Regions from separate parts of the Homo sapiens genome. Here all the other regions are linked to region 2. The links are contacts of gene promoters, found by promoter capture Hi-C in human tissues and cell types (Jung and others, 2019). All regions are on one chromosome and are shown on one strand. Each heading gives the region's core, a stretch centred on a gene start or on the middle of the fragment in contact. The rest is flanking DNA. Distances are from core to core; before and after follow the strand shown.

Region 1 (3,419 bases), core at 169-2,668, 170 kb before region 2:
GCCACAAAAAAATTGTCTTCCTTTCAAACCAGATTCTTCCAGCCTGGGCAACATAGTGAGACCCCATCGCTACAAAAAGTAAACAAACAAACAAACAAAAACTTTACTTTTTGTAAAAATGGCATGGTGGTGCATGTCTGTAGTCCCAGCTACTCAAGAGACTGAGGTGGGAGGATTGCTTGAGCCCAGGATGAGGCTGCAGTGAGCTGTGATTATGCCACTGCACCCATAGCCTGGAAAATAGAACAAGACCTTGTCCTAAAAAAAAAAAAAACGCCAAGATTCTGTAAGTCCTTTCTCAACTCTCTCAAAGCCAGCACTCTCCCGGGCAGCAGAAGAAATCCTTGCTTTTGTGAATATTACTGAAGTTATTATTGAAAATGCTCGAGCGAGGATTCTTGACGGTTGTCTTTGAGCAGAACAATATTCAGAAGGGAAGCTGTACTTTTTTTTTTTTTTTAAGAATGCTTAGTCCCCAGATCTTAAGAATACTTTACCAAAGTGTGAGGTCTAATAAGACTTAATGCTTACGACATGTTTTCTTTGGAAAATGTTTCAGCATATTTGGCATTAGTCAGGAGTTCAGATATGTAATATTCCACCACCCTTTTTCCTGGAACCAGTTTGAAAAACAAACTATTTATGGTATTAAAGATGGAAAATACTTTTCTCTTCCTGGCAATGTGGTGAAGTTGAACATTTTGCAACATTGGAGAAAGAAGTGTTCTTTCTGGGGCTGTCTAGCGGAATGCATGGATATGAGATAATAACATATTTTACTCCTGAGTAGTATTTGGATCAGGTTTTTTTTGGCAAATGCAAATTGCTTTTTGTGAAGTGCAAAACTGTGCCTTGGTGTTTATAAATATAAACTCTCTTCTAATCAGCCTGCATTTAATATCTGCCTAGTACACACGAGTTGAAGTTTGATAATGAACAAAGTTGTGAAGTGACCAGTGAAACCTTTCAACAAGCTTGCTTTTACCCTTCCTACTTAAAGAGCCAGGAGATCTAATTAGTCAACTGTGCAGACTGGCTGATGTTAGAATTTGATCATGTGGCTACTGCACAGTCATAGACAATTTCTGATTTCTGCAGTATAGCTCCCAAATGCAAACCCTGGTTACCCCTGTTTGATTGCTCTCTCTAAGCATTGGTATTCAGAGCATTCTATTGTAACCATGTAATACACATCCAGGGTTAATCCAGCATATACAGAATAGACTGTTTTTGAGTTGCAAGGTACAGAGAGAGAATACATAGTGAATGCGAATAACAAATCAGAATTACTTTTAGAACTTGGTCCTTTTTGAAAAATCCTTCTAAGTCTGCTTGGTTTTACCTTTGTAAGTTAACATATAGTCATCACATGCACATATACGCACACACACGGTCTCTTTCCCTTTCTAATAAACATATTGAAAGGTGAAGGGTTCGATCGCTGACATCAAGGTTTTCTCTTGCTCCAGTGCCCTGCCCCGAGGGTGCAGAACTCTCAGAGAGCCCTGTGTTGGTCCCACCAGGGCTGTTTCATGCCTTCTAATCAGCCAGAGTGCTCGAACATTATGCCCTGCTGCTCCCTGATCTAACTGGTAGTTGGTAGAGCTTGAGGAACAAGAGCTCCGAGCCAGGAAGCTCTGGGGTTTCTACCTGAGTGGCAGCACCCAGGCCACCAGGCTTACAGATGTTCCATCCCCCCAGGCTGCCTAGGCGTGCAGTCACATAGAACCTGCAGAGCCACCTCTGCACAACCCCTGTGGGCTACACCAGCAGTGGGCACTCCGCCCAATCCTTGCTTTATTGGCAGGGAGGAGGGGGTACAGGAGAGAAGATAGGCATCCTCTATGGACAGTTAATAATACCCATTGCATTTCTTTTTCTTTTTTATTTGATTGTGGTAAGAACACTTAGCATGAACTCTACCCTCTCAACACATTTTTAAGTATACAATACACTATTGTTGACTATAGGTACAATGTTGTGCATTAATTTTTTAAGTTTGTGATATATTTAGTAGCAAAGTCCTTCTGGAAAGTCCTCTGGCTCTGCTGCAGGGAAAGCTTGAGAACGGGAGCTCAGTTTCACCTGTTTGCTGAGAGCAAAAGGAAGCTGGCCCGGAAGTGGCTTGCAGGAAGGAGTTGAGCAGGGTTAGGGTGGGGAGACTGGGCAGTTTCTCTGGTTTTTGTAAGCTAGTTCTCTAATTACTTACCCTGAAATGTGTTCCGGAAACACTGACCTCCATTCTCTTATTCACATGGCAGACAGTGTACAAGCTGTTTCAAGCGAAATACTGATAATCAGGATATTAACTACTATATGTCTGCACCAGCCATGAATACAAATCACTGGTCACCAGTGTTTGCTCTGTTCCTTTTTAAAAAAATGTTTAATTAAATTAGGTAACTAATTAATTTGTAAAGATGGGGGGTCTCCATCTTGTCCAGACTAGTCTCAAACTCCTGGGCTCAAGCAATCTTCCTGCCTCGGCCTTCCAAAGTGCTGAGATTCAGTGGCTCACGCCTGTAATCCCCACACTTTGGGAGGCCGAGGCAGGTGGATCACGAGGTCAGGAGTTCGAGACCAGCCTGGCCAACATGGTGAAACCCCATCTCTACTAAAAATACAAAAATTAGCCAGGCGTGGTAGCACATGCCTGTAATCCCAGCTAGTTGGGAGGCCGAAGCAGGAGAATAGCTTGAACCCGGGAGGCAGAGGTTGCAGTGAACCGAGATCGCACCATTGCATTCCAGCCTGGGTGACAGAGGGAGACCCCATCTCGAAAAAAAAAAAAAGCCAAAGTGCTGAGATTATAGACATGAGCCACCATGCCCCACCTCTCTTTGTTTCTTTCTTAAGTTTAGAAATAAATGCTCGTTAGAGAAACTATTTATAAAACCAGCCCTGTTTATTCAGCATGGACTCATGAGACCAAATATAACTTATACAATGTTAATATGGCTGCATTTAATATTTAGTCACTGGGCTACATAGTAGGTAAAAATAACAGATAGTTTGTAAAAATGACTCTTTAGAATCACTTCTACAATATTACACTTTATTTTTTAAGTTTTTCCCTTTCAAGAAATTTGTGTTAATACCCTATAGACTTCTATCACCTTTTATCATTGCAGATATTTAGAAGGTTAGCAGTGTAATGACAAACAGATAAAGAAGTCTGTTTGTAGTTCATTTAAATATAAAAGGAATTGGCGTTTTAGTTGAAAACTTAGCTACACCTGATCAGTGTACTGCAGAACTTTGATGAGTGGGAGTCCCTGATAGATTCCTGGTTCTAGGCTCTTTGCCACCAGATCAACCAGAAAAAGGTGGTGTTTTGTTTTGTTTTGTTTTGTTTTTTGAGACTGAGTCTCGCTCTGTCTCCCAGGCTGGAGTGCAGTGGTGCGATCTCGGCTCACAGC
Region 2 (3,226 bases), core at 300-2,799:
GATTAAGCACCTAATCTTTCCTTTTCTTTTCTTGATGCATTTCAAAATGTGGGAGCATTGCTTCCAAAGTACTAGTGTTTTATCTTAGATTGCAAATGCATTGCTTTGCTAAGCTTCACAACCAGTGCTCCGGGCGGCCTCCTAAAAGTCTGGCACCTGACTGGGGAGCAAGAGGGATGGAGGACAAAGCCTCATGAAAGGAGGAAAGCACCTGGGGGAGCAGAGGGACAATAAAGAGGCCCCCATAGAATCGTCTGAAATGGGAGTAGGATCAAGAGCGCTGTCTCCTGCTGCCTACTGATTTTCCACAATCTCCTCCCCTCTTAAAATAATGTCTTCCCCAAACACAACAGCCTTGCTGGGATGGGGTGAAGTGAAATTTCTGACAACTACTCGGGATCCTGAACTTGATGTTCTTACATATGTTCATCCCGTGTCATTTTCTGCACTTGCCTGGAAACTTCTCTAGTCATTAGTTTCTCTCCCTGGGGCTGGATTCCTGCATTGAAAGGCTAGGCCCAAAACAGGGATAAGTAGTCATCAGCAAGGCCACCGCACCGAGTAACAAGCAGGGCTTTAAGGTGACTAAGCAATAAGATAAGGAACTGCATTGCATGAGGGGCATGTACATTACAAACGTGAATAGCAAGCGTGGGCAAACCAGGCCCGCTTTTGTATGTAAAGTTTTATTGAAACATAGCTACTCTCATCATTTGGTAATATATTGTTGGTGGCTGATTTCCTGCTGCAGTGGCAGAGTTGAGTAGCTGTGTTAGAGGCTGTATAGACCACAAAGCCTAACATATTATTATCTGGCCCTTTTCAGAGAGATCATGCCAGTCCGTGGTGTACAGCATTGTGCTAAGCTGTGAGGGACAGACAAACGAGGTTTAAGATGCAGAGCTTAGGCTGGGCATGGTGGCCCACACCTGTAATCTCAGCACTTTGTGAGGGTGAAAAGGGCAAATTGCTTGAAGCCAGGAGTTTGAGACCAGCCTGGGCAACAAAGGTAGACCTCTGTCACTACAAAATACACAAAAATTAGCCAGGCATAGTGGTGTGTGACTGTGGTCCCACCTGTTTGGGAGGCTGAGGTGGGAGGATCTTTTAAGGCTGGGAGGTTGAGGCTGTTGTGAGTTGTGATTGTGCCACTGCACTCCAGCCTGGGCAACAGAGTGACATCCTGTTTCAAAAAAAAAAAAAAAGATGCAGAGCTTACAAATAAGGTTGGTTTCCATCCTCTGCCTTAGAATGTTAACTGATCTCAAACAAGTCAAAACAAAACCCGTAGCAATGATAACCCCAAGCATCATGTTCTACATCCTTCAAGAACCTGCCATTGCTGGTTCTCAGGGACAGGTGGCTTCATAAGAGTAATTTAGGTCTTACTGAAAAGGCAGATTCCTGGTGCCTGCCGCAGAGGCTGACTTCTCAGTTGAGTCTGCGGAAGAAACACTGCTCCACTTAGTCGGTGACAGGCAGCTCAGGGGAGCGTCCTGCATCCCCTGAAGCCATGTCTGATTCTAACAAGGCTCGAGTAATCCTTTCCTAGCTCAAGAACCTTTCTTTAGAGTGTTAGAGAAAGAAAAATTCTTAGTCCTTTGTTTCTCACCACCTAGAGATGCTAGAATTCTACTTCTTGGCACTAAAAGCTATATCATCCTGCACGCTTGTGTTCTGAAGCAGGTGCTAACTCTCTTCTGGGCCTTAATACCTCTCGTTTTTTCTCTTTTCCTCTCAACAACTGTCCTCACTACACAACTTGGCCAGGGCCTCCCGTCCAAGTGAGAGCTCTTCTCTAAGGCAACAGTCTGCAAACTTTATCACAAATTCCATTAATAAAGTTAAGCATGTATCCTCTTTAGATGTATATTAAATTATAAATCACACTTCTGTACCTCTGTACTAATATGCTACATAAATTATCAACATACACAAAACTAAAATCTGAAAATGAATGAGAGGTGAAATTAACATTAAAAATTAATTAACAGCACATTTCTTTGCTATAGTTATATTGTTAATTAATAAAATATTGTCAAAGGAGGGCCACAAAAGAAATAAAAAATTTTTATGTATAATTAACATGATTTCATTGTTTTTTAAAAATTTGGCTTAACACTTTGTGACTCAATAAAGAGCTAGTTTGAAGGTCCATTTATTTCTGTGTTCAGATTTAATGACACATTTGAAATGAATTCTCATTGGAATATGTAGATCTCAGTATAAGTTTGTTGTTAGTTGTACCTAACTAATTATTGTATTTTATTAAATTCCATCTGCAAATAATGCAAAGATCTTGTTGAAATCTAGTTTTAAGTTTATATAGTATTACATTGTGTAGATATAACATATTTAGCCAATTCCATATTGACTCACACTTAAGGTATTTTTTTCTTCTATGATAAACATATTACAATTAGTAATCTTGTACATTTGTCATTTGTACATTTGCAAGAATATCTGTAGGATACATTCCTGGAAATTGAATTGCTGGGTTAAGGACTGTAATTTTGTAATTTTGCTAGATATTGCCAAATTGCCTTCCACGTGGGCTTGTATGACGAAGATGGCTAGCATACCCTATTACCAAAGGTTAAGATATTTGCTAATATTAGAGATGAAACATAATTTGTCAGCAAAGTTTCAATTTCAGCTTCCCTTATTTCAAGCTGTCTGAGCATCTTTTCTTATCTTCAGAAGCCATTTGTGGACTTTTTTCTCTCTCTCTCTCTCTTTTTTTTTTTTTTTAATTGAGACAGAGTCTCCCTCTGTTGTCCAGGCTGGAGCTCAGTAGTGTGATCTCGGCTCATTGCAACCTCCACCTCGCAGGTTGAAGCGATTCTCGTGCCTCAGCCTCCCGAGTAGCTGGTATTACAGGCATGTGCCCCCACGCCCAGATAATTTTTGTATTTTTAGTAGAGATGGTGTTTCACCATGTCTGCCAGACTGGTCTCAAACTCCTGATCTCAAGCAATCTGCTCGCCTCAACCTCCCAAAGTGCTGAAATTATAGGCATGATCCACGGCATCTGGCCTGTGTGCTTTTTCTTGTGAATTGTCTATAATACGAGAAAATACATAGGTTTTTCTTCAAACATCTTTTTCAAAGTGCTTTGAAATAGGAATTTTATAGTCAATGAGAAAATAGAGACAGATTGTCTTTTTTTTCAAAAATGCTTGTTTAGCAAGTTTTCGGATACATAGTAAATATACAAAAGCCATTT
Region 3 (3,174 bases), core at 273-2,772, 210 kb before region 2:
AAAAAGAAAGAAGGAAGGAAGGGAGGGAGGGAGGGAAAGAAAGAGGGAAGAAAGAGAAAGGAAGGAAGGAAAAAAGGAAGGAAAGAAAGAAAGAAAGAAGGAAAGAAAGAAAGAGAAAGAAAGAAAGAAAGAAAGAAAGAAAGAAAGAAAGAAAGAAAGAAAGAAAGAAAGAAAGAAAGAAAGAGAGAAAGTAAAAAAGAAAGAAAGAAACTGTTGCCAGGGGAGGTGACTCAGGCCTGTAATCCCGGCACTTTGGGAGGCCAAGGTGGGCAGATCACCTGAGGTCAGCAGTTTGAAATCAGCCTGACCAAAATGGTGAAACCCCGTCTCTACTAAAAGTACAAGAATTAGCCAGGCTGTGGTGGCGCACACTGTAATTCCAGCGACTCAGGAGGCTGAGGCGGGAGAATCGCTTGAACCCTGGAGGTGGAGGTTGCAGTGACCCGGGATTGTGCCACTATACTCCAGCCTGGATGACAGAGGGAGACCCTGTCTCAAAAGAAAAGAAAAGAAAGAAAAAAAGAACCTGTTAAGATCTCCTAAAGCCTCTGCAAACTATGTCAAACATTCAATAGTTCCTTAGTTGGGTATTTTCTTAAAATTTTCCTGTTTCTTATCAATGTTAGATATTTTTCCAAGAACTCAAGGGAGATTTGCAGTGGGATAATCCAGTTCACATGGTAAAAATGAAACCACTACCACATAGCTTGTGATGCAATAAAGTAAGTGAAATAAAAGAGGCACAAAAGGAAACCGGAAGTTTCCATATCTTAAAAAGAAAAGCCACAGTGATAAGGCTTCAACCTGCTGAGTCGGTTACCCAGGTTTCTCCAGGCACTGGAGAAACCTCCATGCGGGGTTTCTGTTACTAACAGAGCCCTATTGAGTTGAAAGAAAAACCCATCCACCACCAAGCGCTACTCTATTTCTCTGGCATCAAGAAGGTTAACTTTTTTCACTCTATTTATGCCTTTTTTTTTTTCCTATAATCAAGGAAAGTAAAGCTCAAAGGGATTAAATAGCTTTTCTAAATCAACAGCTAGTATCAGGCCAAAAAAGAAAAAAATTGGCATCTGGATGTTATATAACACTAAAGCCCATATTTTTTTCTTTTACCTCAGACTTTCCACCAGGGACTAAAACAGGTTCAAATACTGTGTAATTGATTGTATTTGATTATGGTGTATTTATGGGGACTATGTAAAGCAACATTTCTTTATAATATTATTTTCTTTTCTTTTTTTTTTTGAGACCGAGTCTTGCTCTGTTGCCCAGGCTAGAATGCAGTGGCAAGATCTGTCCATATCAATTAATAACAAAATTGAAACACGGACTTAAGTGACAAATGTTTATTCATCCACAGTGACTTTTGACTTATACCAGGCTGCTATAATCTAGAACATTATGTTTATGTGAGCGTCACAGTCTCAGAAATATTCTCCCTGACCTAAGTAAGTTCTAGTCCCAAAGTATCTCTCCCCATCCCATTCACTTCCTTCACCTTGTTCATTTCCTCTTGAAACGTGTCATAAATTGTGCACTTATGTGTATTTATTTATTTGTTCAGTGTCTCTCTCTCCCTGACAAAACTCTAGACTCCATGAAGGCCATTGAGTTTTGTGCACTGCTGCTCCCCAGCACCTAAAACTGTGACTGGCATATACTACACACTCAAATATTTGTTGCATGAACGGATAAAGGAGCAGAATTGTCTTTTAAACGATATAGTGGTTATTCTTTTCTTCTCACTTGCAAAGCTGATTTTAGAAGCAGGTGCCAGAGATAAAGGTTACAAAATCTTAATATCTGTGCTTTACAAAATCAGAACGATGTTCACTAAAATGTTGACAGCAATTATTGTTGATCTGAGTGTTGGGATTGGTGGGTAAATTTCATTATCCCTATTTTCTAGCAAGTCTTTAGTAAACAGGAATTGTTTTGAAATCAGATTTAAGCTTTTAAAAAGTATAAACTCTTGGTATGCTCTCTAATTTGCTGTTCTTCTGAGAGCAGTTAGAGCTATAATCTGTGCATCAGGATGGGGAGCATCTGAAGTTTCCCCAAATGTAACTAACTAGAGCCAAGAAGGTACATCTCAATATTCCAGTATCTCCTTCTGCCAGGAGGTCTCTGCACCCAGACTATGCTCTGTGAATCTTGGATCTGAGGGATAAAACTGGGGGACCCAACTGGGCAGCAGTTGACTTAGCTAGAACCACTCATGGTGGTGGGTTTCAGGCAAACAAGGATGTGGGAGGCAACTTGGTGTCAACTGAGGGCTGCATGCATAAGTGAGGGGGACTGGCCAGTGGCTTCATGGTTGACAGCAGCCCATGAGTAATGTGGGCTGTACCTCCAATACCTATAGCAATCCCTGGGGCCCACTGATGTGCGTAAGTGTCTCTTGAATGAGTGGGTGACTTAGCACCTGCGAAGTCCAAGAATATAGTAACCTAATGGCTATATAATTTTGAAGGCAATATATTTGAGTTAGAATTTTGGCCATGTGTATTATCTGAGTGATCTTGGACAAGTTACTAATCTCCAAATTTCAGATCCCTCAAATACAAAACAAGCCTTGTAACAGCAACTTTCAGGGTCACTGCATCAGGGATATTAACTGAGTAAATGAAAGTATGTTTTTCAAAAACATTTTAGTACAGTATAAATACATGCAATACATGATTTCACTTTTCTCCTATGGTTAGAGCTGTAGGTTAAGAGGTTTTGATATTATGAAAAGTAAAATGAAAACAAGATAGCTTTTCTTTTTTCCATTATATAATAAAGAAACCAAAGCTCTACGAGTTTAAGTGACTTGCCCAAGGTCACATGGACAGAAAATGGGGAAGCAGAGATTTGAATTTAAAAAGTGTTCTTTTCACTTGGTTAGTATTTCCAAGGAACAGTCCCTTCTTGCTTTCTGAAGTTCAGATTTCAGGGGCCCAAGCCTACCTCTACTGAATGAGAATTTCCTAGGTGATACTTATAAGGCAAATGAGAATCACTGGTCCTAAAACCAAGCCATCATCAGCATGGAGTTAAGATTCTGAGTGAATGTGCCCCCCTGTGACAGGCTGGCCATGCCCATAAGGGACTATCCTAAGGCGACAGCCTGCCCCTCAAGACAGGTGACGGATAATCTCCTCTTCCCTCGATTATGTTGTTGGAATA

The links. Contacts are between HindIII fragments. The study calls those that stand out against the background at their distance.
Region 1: a fragment that was not itself captured here is called in contact with the fragment with the promoter of LYZL2 in region 2 in 2 of the 25 tissues and cell types used here (H1 embryonic stem cells and spleen).
Region 3: a fragment that was not itself captured here is called in contact with the fragment with the promoter of LYZL2 in region 2 in 2 of the 25 tissues and cell types used here (lymphoblastoid cells and mesenchymal stem cells).

What each region holds. Positions count from the first base shown.
Region 1 is chr10:30,454,306-30,457,724 of GRCh38, forward strand. All of the region lies in intron 6 of MAP3K8 (mitogen-activated protein kinase kinase kinase 8), which reads left to right. Among named protein-coding and RNA genes, the nearest start is that of MAP3K8, 22 kb to the left of the region's middle. The HindIII fragment of the contact is 4,028 bases long and covers 1-3,419 here.
Region 2 is chr10:30,628,204-30,631,429 of GRCh38, forward strand. LYZL2 (lysozyme like 2) reads right to left here and starts at 1,550. Exons shown (of 5, transcript NM_183058.3): 1 at 1,390-1,550. The HindIII fragment of the contact is 10,435 bases long and covers 1-3,226 here.
Region 3 is chr10:30,418,128-30,421,301 of GRCh38, forward strand. No RefSeq gene overlaps it. Among named protein-coding and RNA genes, the nearest start is that of MAP3K8, 14 kb to the right of the region's middle. RefSeq lists enhancers at 472-591, 632-701. The HindIII fragment of the contact is 6,307 bases long and covers 1-3,174 here.